Regions from separate parts of the Homo sapiens genome. Here region 1 is linked to region 2. The links are contacts of gene promoters, found by promoter capture Hi-C in blood cells and fetal thymus (Javierre and others, 2016). All regions are on one chromosome and are shown on one strand. Each heading gives the region's core, a stretch centred on a gene start or on the middle of the fragment in contact. The rest is flanking DNA. Distances are from core to core; before and after follow the strand shown. Region 1 has its middle 15 kb from the start of TASL. Region 2 holds the start of GK (glycerol kinase).

The links. Contacts are between HindIII fragments. The CHiCAGO score rates a contact against its expected background, and 5 or more counts as called.
Region 1: a fragment that was not itself captured here is called in contact with the fragment with the promoter of GK in region 2 in 4 of 17 cell types (total B cells, M0 macrophages, M1 macrophages and 1 more); the score reaches 9.9 in total B cells.

The regions. Positions count from the first base shown.
Region 1 is chrX:30,589,264-30,595,749 of GRCh38, forward strand. No RefSeq gene overlaps it. Among named protein-coding and RNA genes, the nearest start is that of TASL, 15 kb to the left of the region's middle. RefSeq lists a silencer at 4,584-4,693. The HindIII fragment of the contact is 2,791 bases long and covers 1,171-3,961 here.
Region 2 is chrX:30,650,633-30,657,936 of GRCh38, forward strand. It overlaps GK (glycerol kinase), which reads left to right and starts at 2,791. Exons shown (of 21, transcript NM_001205019.2): 1 at 2,791-2,983. The coding sequence starts at 2,906. RefSeq lists a silencer at 2,461-2,880. The HindIII fragment of the contact is 2,269 bases long and covers 2,167-4,435 here.

The DNA.
Region 1 (6,486 bases), core at 1,316-3,815, 62 kb before region 2:
TAAATTTAGCCTTCCACAAAGCCATAGAGCACAGGACATAATGCAGCCAAGTTCTTTGCTATGCAGCAAGGGTGACCTTTGCTCCAGTTCCCAATAAGTTCCTCATTTCCATCTGAGACTTTATTTCCATTACCTAGTTTCACAGCTGCTTCCACATTTTCAGGTATTTCTTTATAGAAACAACCCACTCCTTGGTACCCATTTTCTGTCTTTGTCCATTTGCCTTGCTATAAAGGAATATCTGAGGCCAAGTAATTTATAAAGAAAAAAAGGTTTTTTGGCTCATGATTCTGACATCTAGAAAAGTTCACGATCGGGCATCTGCGTCTGGTGAGAGCCTCAGGCTGCTTCTACTCGTGATAGAAGGTGAAGGTGAGCTGATGTGTGCAGAGATCACATGGCAGGAGAGAAAGCAAGAGGTGGGAGGTGCTTTTTAACAACCAGCTGTCACAGAACCCATAGAGTGAGAACTCACTCATTACTGCAGGAATAGCACCAAGTCATTCATAAGGGATCTGCCCCCACAACCCAAACTCTACTAGACCCCCACCTCCAACACTGGGGATCAAATTTCAACATGAGATTTGGAAGGGAGAAACATCCAAAATATGGTACTCTGTAAAGAACTAAATTAAATGAAAAAGACACATTAAACTAATAGGTTAACACTGTATTTTGAGGTAAGATATGGATTCTGTTTTCCTTAGCATCCTTTTCTCTGCATGTTTAGATAATTTGAACTATAACAGAAAGAATGAGCTTGGTAAACCTTCAACTCTAAAGATGATAGTGGGCTCCCCAAACCATCTCTCTCTTCCAACTTGACTGTTTTAGGACAGTGGCTCTCGAGAGCAAAGCTTCCAAGCAGTTTAAATATTGCTCTTTATACAAGCTTTTATGAAAAGTTTAGTTTCTGTCATCAAATAGTTGTTAGAAGTTCAGAGGTTCCTTTGTGAGAGCCAGTTGAACAGTTCTCAGACTTATATTCAGAGGTAAAAGAGCCTAGAAAAATTAAACCTGCATAATCTTGGTGTCCTCTAATCCCACGAGATTGTGCAATTTTGGCATATTTTTTAAGGAAAAGGGACGAGACACTCCAAAGCCAAGTGGTGGGATTTATACACCCCAGAGAAAGTTCCAAATTTTTTACAATTTACATTCTCTTTGGAAAGCTTCTTAGTTTTTATTTCCCCCCTTGATTCTATTTTTATCATGCCATAGCACTGGCTCATGTTAATAAAGACAGTCAGGGACACATGAGTCCTATGGAGGAGAAACTGGAACTTCAGTCCAAGTAACGTTATTTCACAAAGCAATGGAGAAGTGAAATTAGTGCCGTTGAGCCCTTAAGACTCCAGATTTCCTCTCTATGGAGAGGCTTCTGGGGTAGAAATTTTTCATCTCTGTCTCCAACTGACCACATCAAACCCCTCTTTGGGTCCTGTCCCTCTATGAGTAAAATTCAAGCAAATGTATATATCAGATTATAGATCGAAGAGCTAGTTTTGTTTAAGCAACTTCTGTCTATTTACAGGCACACATTTATAACAATAAAGCAATTCCTATTCTTTGTAATTCTTTCCCTTGCTCTGTAACTCCTGGAGGTGAGAAGAACAATGCTTGAGGCTAATGAAAAACATCTTTCAAGATAAATTTTAAATTAATGAATCCCTCTACATTCACATTTAGTAGAAGTCAACTAATTAGTTTCAAAATTTAGAGCAAAAATAAATCCTTTCTATCAAGTCTCTTGAAGGGATTACTACGAAGCATATGACAATGCAAACTTTCTGTTGGGGGCTCATTATCAGAAATTCCCATCAAACAATGAGATAAGAATCTAATCTAATGAGAATCTAATCCAGTAGATGTAAGTGCTTAATTGTACAGATTCATATCAAATTGATTTACAAATCTCTTGGCTTTACTTTAAAATCTCTTAGACTTTAAGTACTCTTACCACAAAAAAAGAAAAGGAAAAAGGTAACTATGAGATGCTAGGTATGTTAATTTGCTTGACTACAGTAATCACTATGTATATGTATATTAAGATCAATATATTAAAACATTATGCTGTACACTTTAAACATATACAATAAGAATGGTCTTTTAAGACAATGCTTCTCAAACTTTGACACGCATATGAATCACCTGGGAATCCTGTTTAAATCCAGATTCAGTAGATCTGGGGTGTGCCCTGACATTCTATATTTCTAACAATCTCCCATGGGATGGCAATGGTGCTCATCTGTGGAGGACTACACTTTGAGTAACAAGGTTTCAAGGCACCTACGTTCTGCATCTTAAGCCTTTATATAGCAAAAGCTCTTATTTGCAGAATGCCTACTATACGTGCATTATAGACTAAAAGGTTTGATTTATGTCATTTAATCCTCAAAATAATCCTATAGAGCATGTTTGATTATTTTTTAAAATAAGAAAAGTTTGGATTTCAGAGAGGCTAATTACTTTGTCCAAAGTCACACAGGAAGTCAGGGCCAGGAATTTGGACCCAGGCTTTTCTGACTCCAAAGCCAGAGGACTATTCTCTATGTATTATATACAACATCTAGTACACAGCGTTTTGAGACAGAGATGAGAAAAACTTCCTACCATTCAGAATCAACAGTACAATGGCAGAAATCAGACAAATATGTAAAAAGATAAATTACAGTTTTTAAAGGTATTGTGCAAGTATCAAAGAAGTATAGATTACTGAGTTAATTAAATAGTAATAGGATAGGAAAGGATAAAATTAATATATTTCTGTACAATTACTTTGGATTAACTCTCATTAATCTACCTCTTGATGGAAGAAGTGGACAACTGTGGGCATTCTAACAACTGCCACATGTAGGTAACAGTGAGGAGGCCGTTGGAACTTTTCTGTGAGTTGGGGCTGGGGAAGGGAGAGGGATTTCCAAAGTCCCTTCAACATCTCCGCTTAAATGATTATGCAATTCAAATTTTGAACTTGTCATTTAAAAATAATTTATATAAATTACCTGCTCGTGGTTTAAAATATATATAATGGTACAGAGCTATAAAGAAAAAAGTCTTCTCCCCTAACTCCCTTATTTCCACTTTCCAAAGGAAAACATTGTTTTCAATTTTATGTGTATCTTTTCTGGAAGAACTAAGTTTTTCTTACAATTTTTACAATTTTCAATGTGAGCCTTGTTGAACACAAGTTACCTTAAAGAAATGTTCCATATAGGCCAGGCTCGGTGACTCACGCCTGTCATCCCAGCACTTTGGGAGGCCGAGGCGGGTGGATCACCTGAGGTCAGGAGTTCAAGACCAGCCTGGCCAACATGGTGAAACCCCATCTCTACTAAAAATACAAAAATTAACCGGGCGTGGTGGTGTGCGCCTATAGTCCCAGTACTGGAGAAGCTGAGACAGGAGAATTGCTTTTGAACCTGGGAGGCGGAGGTTGCAGTGAGCCAAGATCACACCACAGTACTCCAGCCTGGGCAACAAAGTGAGAATCCGTCTCAAAAGAAAAAAAAAGAAATGCTCCATGTAGAATTATAGAATTTTTGTACCTTTTTAACATCGAGATCTAGACTTGATCACTACTTTATTCAATTCAGAAACTACTTATTGAGCATTTATTAAGGGCCAGGTATTAGGCATTTTATACATAAAAACCACTAAGGTTTGATTTCTACCTCCAAAAGGCTCGTAGTTCAGGGACTTCTCTGATCAGGAAAAAAAAAATGACTGTGGTGTTGCAGACAGGAAATTACTATTTAATACTGACAGTGCCTTCTTCCTGTTTCACCAGAAGAGAAAAAGTCGGAATTTGAGGATATATTCTATTCGGGCAAGTTTCACTTCTCAAGTGATTCCCATAAACCCCTTTCTAGTCTGCACTCCAAGGTAATCCATTTGAACCTCTCCTTGGGTCTATTTTCCTTCTTGCAATTCATGAGGACATGTTTTTTTGTATTTACAAAGCTTTTATCTGAATTACAAGATGATCAAGTCAGAAAAACTGGTTCTTTCTGGTCCTCTGACGTAGGTCCCTCTGAACATTTAAGGTGAAGAGTCAGCTGCCCATGCAGAATTCATTCATTTACCCAACTCAAATTCATAAAGTGCCCCCCACAAAACTGTGAAATTTGAGTTGCCTGGACAAGAGACCTTCCACACGAGAATAGTGCCTTGTCAAACAACTAACTACTGTGTCTTTATACTTTCAAAACTTTAAGTTTTAAAGCCATTTCTGCAGCAAAATCTCACATTAAAAGATAGGTTTTAAGGCATATACTCCAAACTTCTGTGGGTCGAATTTAGTTGAATAATGCCTTTGTTAGCAACTAATGAGCCTGTCATCAAGAATGAGGAAGTTGGGAAGAGAAAGGTGGAATGTTTCCCAAATTATCTCATTTTAAGAATCACCTGATGTGCTTATTAAATATGCAGATTTTCTAGGCCCTTCCCCTGGAGATTTGGTTCATTAGATTTGGACCTGGGACTGCCACATTTAACAACTGCCTCAGAAGATTCTTACGATTAGACTACCCTACAGCAATAGTTTTTAACTTTGGATGTACATTAGTAATATCTGGGGAGTTTTTTCGCTGTTTTTTTTTTTTTTTTTTAAACAGGGTCTCACTCTGTCACCCAAGCTGGAGTGCAGTGGTGCAATCACAGCTCACTGCAGCCTCAACCTCCTGGGCTTAAGCGATCATCCTGCCTCAGCCCCACTAGTAGCTGGGAGTACAGGTGCGCCACCTGGTGAGTTTCTAAAAGTACATATATATTAATACCTGGGTTGCAAACACAAATACTCTAATTTATCTGGGTTGGTGCCAAGCATTGGTCATTTTTTAAAGTTCCCTAGGTGATTCTAGTGTTGAGCCATTCTAGTGTTCAGAAATAATGATCTAAAGTAGCAGTTATAAAACGTTTTGGTGTCAGGATTCCTTTACACACTTGAAAATTGTGGAGAGTGGTGCGTGCCTTCAGTCCCAGTTACTTGGGAGGCTGAGGCAGGAGGATTGCTTAAGCCCAGGAGTTCAAGGCTGCAGTGAGCTACGACTACACCTGTGAATAGTCACTGCACTCAACAAGCAAGACCCTGTCTATAAAGAAACAAAACAAGCAAACAAAATTATGGAGAATTTCAAAGAGCTCTTATGTGGGTTATATTGATATTGTCCATAAGCAAAATTAAAACTAAGAAATTTTGAAACATTTATTGGCCCATTTAATAATTATAATAATAGACCCATTATGTGGTAATATAAATAATGTACTTTTGATTTAAAAATTATTTTTCAAAAAAATTAACGAGAAGAGTAGCATCCTTTTCTATTTCTACAAATCTCTTTAACACCTGGCTTATAGAAGACAATTAGTTTCTGCATTTAATCTATTGGGATAAGCTGTTTTGATTGAAGAATTCTACTTGAAGTATATGAAGAAAATCCAGCCTCTCAGAAATATGCTGTTGAAAAAGGAAAGAGTGTGTTAAAAGCTTTTCAGATAACTGTGGATATTCCTCTTGGACACAACACCAAAACTTGACAAGTGACAATTTCTTAAAGGTTGCTTGTAATGTGGAACAGAAAGTATATTATGAACTTCTTGTACTTCATTATATTAAAACCCATTGATCCATCTTATACTTTTAATGCATCATTTACTCATGCAAGATTTTATATCATACATTGGTCATTTGAAAAAATATCAGTTCCCTGAGTTATGCAGCCCTTCCAAATGCTGGCACATTTCCTACTGTATAATATCAAAACATCACATTTGTTAATATCACAACCAGTCTCATCAGGAGAGTCAGTAGGTACTGAGATGCTGTCAAAATCCCAATAGTGGAATAGGTTTTTCAAAATTGTAATATTCATTTGAACACTTGAGTTTCATTGTTGGCCACATATATACTGTCAGTTGTTTTCCTTGAAGTGACAAACAGACTTCATTCATTTTCAAGCAAATGTTTGCCAGATCTCCAAGTCTGAAAAACCATGGTTTGCCAGTTGCTCTTTGGAGTAAAAATAGTGTTTCACGAGAAAAGCCACTAGTTAAGCCATCAACCCAATCACTCAAATGCTTTTCCTGGCGGCATCTATTCTACTTCAGTGTGCAGCGGAAGTGCTTTATGCATGCCTCATATTTCATTGCAGGGAAGTTTTTTAAGTGTACTTGAGTCAAGATTTAATAAAATTAATAATTCTTGCTGTTTCATCAAGGACATTCTTAAATGAGAGAGGCTTTTAAATTTTTTTAAATTTTTTAACTTTATTTTTTATATTATATTATATTTTATTTTATTTTATTGAGATGGAGTCCCACTCTGTCGCCAGGTGGAGTGCAGTGGCACGATCTCTGCTCACTGCAACCTGTGAGTTTAAAACTGTGAGTGTGTGGGGATGAAAAATACAATGACTACTAGTAAAGTTTAGCACCACTGCCTTGATACACGCTAAGGAGTCGGAATTTTGTTTATTGCTTTTGCAC
Region 2 (7,304 bases), core at 1,541-4,040:
AAGGTTTTGGACAATAGCTGGGGCTTGAGGGAGTGAGAAAAGTCAAGCAAAAGGGGATTTGTCCCTCTGGGGATTAATTCCAGGACGACCCCACCCCCGCCGCCCTCACCACACACACTCACCCTCCCTACCCCGAGGATACAAAAATCCGAGAATGCTCAAATGCCTTATATAAAATGGCATAGTATTTGCATGTAACCTATGCACATCCTCCAGTAAATTTAAATCATCTTTAGATTAACTATAACACCTAATACAATGTAAATGCTATGAAAATAGTTGTTACATGGTATTGTTTTTATTTGTATTGTTTGTTATTGTTGTATTGACATTTTTTCAAATATTTTTGATCTGCGGTTGGCTGAATCCTTGGATAAGAGACCCTCACATATGGAAGGCTGACTGTAATTCTAAAAAAATAAGACAAAGTGGACTTATAAGAATTCACAGTAGGCCGGTCGCAGTGGCTCACGCCTGTAATCCCAGCACTTTGAGAGTCCAAGGCGGGCGGATCACGAGGTCAGGAGTTCGAGACCAGCCTGCCCAGCATGGTGAAACCCCATCTCTACTAAAAATACAACAAATTAGCCGGGCATGGTGGCGCGGGCCTGTAGTCCCAGCTACTTGGGAGGCTGACGCAGGGGAATTGCTTGAACCAGGCAGGTGGAGGTTGCAGTGAGCCAAGATTGCACCACTGCACTCCAGCCTGGGCGAAAGAGCAAGACTCCAACTCAAAAAAAAAAAAAAAAAAAAAAAAAAAGTTCACAGTAAATATTTAAGATAGGCTGAGCTCAACTCTTCCATCTAACACCTTTCCCCTTATCTTTACCTCATCTCTAACAGGGTGCTGAGATGTGACGCCTGAAAGGCCAATATTTTGGCTTTTCAGTTTTGTTTTGGTGAAAGGAATGAGGATGTGGAATACACATTGTTGTAGGAACCATAGGATCAACAAATTTAAGAATCCCCCATGTACATCTAGCCCAACTTATTCTGAAATGTCTGAATTCTGATCCCATTGTGCTGCCAAACAAATAATTTGCTGTCCTGTTGGAATCTGAGAGTCAAAAGTATGTGAAAGTTCAAACGTGGTCAGGGATTTTTTTTTTTTAATGGATCGATGTGGTAGGTTTGGTGGCTTTGTTTTTACTGCCTTCTAGAACCAAGAAAATCCTTTTCTATATCATTCACTCAACTAATGCCTTTCACTGTTTTTAGAGGCAAGTTGGCCTGGTTCCTTGCTTATATGCCTGTCTCCCTCTTTTCCTCTTCCAGGAAATTCAGAGATACTGACTCATCTTCACTCTTATATTAAAGCAAGCCAGTTTATCGATAGTTATTAAATCTAGTATGTCCATAAGCAGGCTTCATCTGGAACATTAGAATGTGAGGTCTAGACGGTGTTTAGGAAAATTTGCTTTCAGATCATGTGTGGTAAAACTATACAAACAGAGATGGACAAGTGACGTGGTGTAGAGCAAGGTAAGAAAGGAAAAAAAAAAAAAAGGAAAAGAAATGATGTTCCAGAACACAGAGATTTGGGAAAGGGATGGAAAGAAATGACAGTGGGTATAGCGGAGTGCTTTTAAAATTGATAGAGAGCATGGTGGGTTACAAAAGCAATTTAGTGATTTTCAATCAGCATTAAAAAAAAATGATATGCCATAGAATAAAAATACAGAATGCATACTGTGGAAGGACAAATATTGTTTTGGAAAGTTTTTCTATACATACATAAATGTATATTAGATGTATATAACATGTATTTACATGTGTAACAATTGTAACTACAAATGTGCTCCCCGCCCACACACACTGGAGCCTGGGTTTGTTTTGTAAACTGTTTCACAGTGTGGGTCTTGGTTCCAAGTTTGAAAGCCCTTAGAACACAGGATCCAGAAGGATCCGGGCAAGGTAAATTCAAGGTCAAGGGAGAGTCCCTTTTCTGTCCCCTGCCATCCAAAGCAGTTAATGGAGGGAGAGGAAATGGCGTGTGGGGGAGGGGACCGCAGAGTGAGGCCAAACGAGGAGCAAGGGCGCGTCAGGACGGAGTGGTGCCGGGCGCCTTCTGCCTGAATGGTCGATAGAGGAACTTGGGGAGGTTGATTTTGGGTGCTTTCCTTAAATGCTAAACCGAAAGAACTTCCGCGTTTCTTGTCCCTGAAAAGCTTGCAACGGTGAAGGATTCGCGTTGCTCCTTGAGGTGACCCTATATGGGGTCAATCCCAGCCAAAGGAATGATTACGATTACCAGGGGCCAGATGCAGGGAGGTGGGCGGGGCGTGGGAAACGCGGGAAGGCCGGGCCGGGTAGGTCCACACAGCGACTCACGTCGCTGCACGACTCTGCACAGCCCACTGGAGGGAACAAGCAGTTCTACACACTTTGAGACCCCTATGGAGGCGAGCCCCAGGACACTAGTGGAAGTGCGCTCTTTTCGCCGGCCAGGAGCGCTGCCTGCCAAAGGGCAGTACTCGTCTCCGCCCCATGCCATGCAGCTGGATGGCTCTGCTGTCCGCTCGCCGGGCCCCCACGTGACCTACTGCGCGGGCCGCCGCCTCCACCGCGCCCAGGCCCCGCCCCCGTGACGTCTCATCGCCCTCTGCCTGTCCGAGCGTTCGGCTCTTTTGCGTTTGCTGATTGGCCAGCCCAGGTGACAGCGCCCACCCCCACCCCCCCTGACACGCCCCTGGAGCCTTGGGGGTACGCGGTGGGGGGCGGGGCCTGGGCCGGAGGGGCGGGGTGAGAAGGCTGCGCGCGGGTAAAGGGGCCGCCTCGAGCGCGGTCCGAGCGTTCAGCGGACGCGCGCGGCCTCGATCTCTGGACTCGTCACCTGCCCCTCCCCCTCCCGCCGCCGTCACCCAGGAAACCGGCCGCAATCGCCGGCCGACCTGAAGCTGGTTTCATGGCAGCCTCAAAGAAGGCAGTTTTGGGGCCATTGGTGGGGGCGGTGGACCAGGGCACCAGTTCGACGCGCTTTTTGGTGAGCCCGGGGTGACATGTGAAGAGGCGCTGAGCCGGGGCGGGAGTCGGGGGACGGAGGGGGTGGCTGTTGTGTCCCCATCCCGCATCTCTCCGGCCCGGTGCCCCGGCCGCTGGGCAAGGAGGGAGGCCGGAACGGGACCTGCCACACTGGGGATGCCCCAGCCAGGCCTGGGGGACCTCGGCCTCTCATGACCCCCATGGCCGAGTTGAACAGTCGCAGTTTTGGTGGCGGAGCTGGGTCACCTACTAATGGGGTGACTCTTCCCCCAAAGGGAGCAGGGACTCTCCGAGCATCCGCGCAGAGCGGCCCGCTTGCAGTAGGGGACAGGTGGCCACATTGACGGCTACCGCGGTCTTCCCCAGGAACATTTGGCCTGCGAGACACAGGACGTCCTTGGATGGGGGGAAAGCTGTGTCACGGCTGTGGTAGCTAACACAGCGTCCTTTCCAGCAGTAGAACGAATAAAGTATTGGAGTGATGATGCGTTGTCATCCTCTCCCATAAAAATTGCAGAGGGTTGAATACTGGGGAGGGTGGCAGAACAAATTAGGAAACAGTCACACTACACTGGTTTTGCCATAATCTTTATTTAATTCCGAAGACTCGCAAATTTCAGTTCTGAGACTTTGCCCATTACAAACAAATGATTGTCCTTACTGTGCTTCACAGCATAATGCGACACGGAAATTCTGTTTCTCTTTTTATTTACCATGTGTGACAGCACAGTTTTACCACAAAAGATTGCTATTTAAGTGACTGCTGATTAATTTTTGTGCAATTAGTAAACTTGCTCTTAAAGTGACCTAGCACAGAGTTCAGTAAGATAATTTAAAAGTAATTGAGGCCGGGCGCGGTGGCTTACACGTGTAATCCCAACAGTTTGGGAGGCTGAGGCGGGTGGATTACCTAAGGTCAGGAGTTCGAGACCAGCCTGGCCAACCTGGCATAACAAAAATTAGCTGGGCGTGGTGGCGGGCGCCTGTAATCCTACTTACCCGGGAGGCTGAGGCAGGAGAATCACTTGGACCCGGGAGGCGGAGGTTGCAGTGAGCAGAGATCACACCACTGCACTCCAGCCTGGGCAATCCAGCCTAGCCAACAGAGCGAGACTCTGTCTCAAAAAAATAAAAATAAATAAAAAATAAATAAAAGTAATTGAAATGAATGCCTGCTGATAAAAGCCCATGCTTTCAATGGATATTTGACTAACTTGGCAAGTTGATGTAAATATTTAATGATTATTTAGCTCTTCACTTTACCGCAAATCATGTTTTCCTGTGTTATTTAGTATGTATATATCTGTACATATATACACATATGTGTATATTTATACATAGGCATTATACATACAATGTATATATTTTTTCAAAGTTCTGTCAGAGCTGGCACTTGACTAAAAACTGCATTTGTGCTTTGATCCTGACATATCTTTTTTTGTCTAAAGTGAGAAGCTTTCAGTCTAATTTTGGTTTGAATCTTATTTAATGACTTACCCTGGTTTGAGCTGCCAAGCATAGTTCCACTGTCTCTTGCACTGTTTATCTTTTGATCACCCAGGGCAGGTTTCACTTTGTCTTATATTCATAGAAATGTTTATAGAGTAATCCTGAATCATAAGAAAGTTTGCTTAACTGGATTTGATTAATACATAATATACACGATCATCATCTTCCCAACTTAAGAAAGACCATTAAGACATGTGCCAACTAACTGTGGGTTGATGTTTAAAGCCATATTCAAGAATTGCCCACACAAATGCCTGCAGGGACCAGGCAGGTAGAAGGGGGAAGGCAGACTAGAGAGATATCCAGGTCAAGGGGACAGCTAGTAGCTGCCAAGCAGGAACACAAGCCCAGTGCTGCCAGATCGTCAGATTAAAAGCAGGTAGTCTAGAGTTTTCAATGAAATCTTTCAATTCTTAAATGTTGGCAATTAGTTTATAAAGCACTGTGGGGGCCAAACCAAGCATGGCAGATGTTCTCAAGTTTATACAGCCTTTGCTCAATATGAAAATGGGTAAAATATTTCATAACTTTGTAGGCTTCCTTTAGGAGTCAGCTTGAACTGTCCATGCCTTCTTTTTGACTGTTCATTATTGCTGTCCATGTAGCCCAGCAATCTTCTTTATTCACTACAGGTTGTTCTTGGTCCCTCAGGTTTTGTTGCCTAAAAGACATCTTTCTACATCAATGAAGAAGAACTTGATCAACTTCATATTACCACAATTAATTGTTCAGTCTGTAACATGAACAACATGAGCCTTCAAAAATTGGCTCCTGTTTACTGGGTTCTGTGAGGCCTCGTCTCATTGCATGTAAGCTAAGATGCAAATTCAGAAGATTCTTATCCTGCTTAGAGAATGATTTTATAAAAGTTGATCAGTAAAATTGTCCTCTCCTTGAGAAACAACTATGAAAGCATGCTCTAGAGGCAAATAAAAAAACCGTAGAGATCCTGTGTGAAGTAGTGAAAAACTTAGGAATGGTTTAGCAAGGTGTTTTTTCCTTTGTTTATAAGGAGAGAGATTGCTAAACCACTCCCTGCAAAATGCAGATAAAAGATTTGCTGAATAAGTGCTTCAATCACAAGATGATTCCCGGGAGTTATTCCAGTCATATTACTCCACGTTGTAATTATGACTGAAAAATAATTGCTTACCTCTCAGGAAAGAATACAGTGGATAAGAACTGTCATAAGGAAGCTTATAAAATTAAAGATATTTAAGTAATTTCCTATTATTCATTAAATTTGCATATTTAACTTGACTTTCCTGAGACCAATAATCTCTGCAAGCTTTCTTCTTCTTTTTTCTCTGTTAGCAATATTAGCTTTCTCCCATAAGGAGAAAAGGCTTTATCTGTGCTCTTTCATCCCAGGGAAATGCCTCCACCTCTATCCCACATATCCGCTTCTCTACCTCTAAATAGTGGCTCAACTGCCACCTTTTAGTGTAAGTCTTCCTCAAACCGTTATTCAGAATTCCCCCCCCTTCCTACAGCACTTTTAAAAATACTTCTATTAATAGCTCTTATTACCTTCCCCCTTGTATTATAATCGTATACCTGCTGTACTTGGGAGCAGGGTCCTCCTTTTAAGCTATTTGTCATGTTGACCAAGATGTTTTATGAAATACAAAGATGAACAGCACTTAAAGACTGTTCAGAGAGTGTTTTATACATGTTTATTGAGTAGATTTTTATTTCTCTTTAATAAGTTAACTGAATTATTTTTTATTTTATTTTATTTTTTTGAGACAGAATCTCGCTCTGTAGCCCAGGCTGGAGTGCAGTGGCATGATCTCGGCTCACTGCAGCCTCTGCCTCCCAGGCTCAAGTGATTCTTCTGCCTCAGCCTCCTGAGTAGCTGGGATTACAGGCATGCGCCACCACGCCCGGCTAATTTTTACATTTTTAGTAGAGACGGGGTTTCACCATGTTGGTCAGGCTGGTCTCGAACTCCTGACGTCGTGATCCACCCACGTTGGCCTCCCAAAGTGCTGGTATTACAGGCGTCAGCCACCGTGCCCAGCCAAGTTAACTGAATTTTAATTCTGGTTTTCTTTCTTACCTCTTAAAACATTCTTGGGTACGTTTGGTTACTTAATTTCTTCTTACATTTTAGTAGTAGACATACAATAGAACATGTTCATTTCCTCATCAAATTGTCAAAGAATTAATCTTGGGACCCCATGCATATGCTTTGTACAAGCGGAAAATTTCCAACTTATCTGATAGGAAAGTGAATTGGGGTTGGCACATGGTAACTCAGATTGCAGAGTAGGAACTTCTTGGAAAGAGAATTAGTGTAACAGGTTTTAAGGAGGGGCCATTTCTTTGTAAGACAAAAGTTTCAGCTTAAACAATCAACTTCCTTCTTTAATTTGGTAACTTAATTTTTTCCCCACTATGATGATTTTTTAAAAGACTTGTAATGTGTTGTGGCTTGAAATGTGTCAGGTACTATGTTGAAGACTTTTCCAGCATTATCTCATTTAATCCTCATAACTCTGTGATGTAGATCGTATTAGTAAGCTTCTTTACACAGGTGATTAGACTGTGGCTGAGGATTGTGCCCAAGGTCACAGAGTAACTGGTGGAGCTAGGATTCAAGTCCAGGTCTGTTATACTCTGAAACCAGTCCTCCTGACTACTGCCTTGGGTTCCCCAGCTGTGTAGAGTACTGTGAAGGGGAAATGAGAGAAGGGGGAGGCCACCTTCTCACCTATTAATCAAGTGTCAGTTCTGATTATCATCACGAATGAATCTTCACCAAGAAAAACATACTTATAAATTGGTTTTGCAATCTATAAAAAATATTG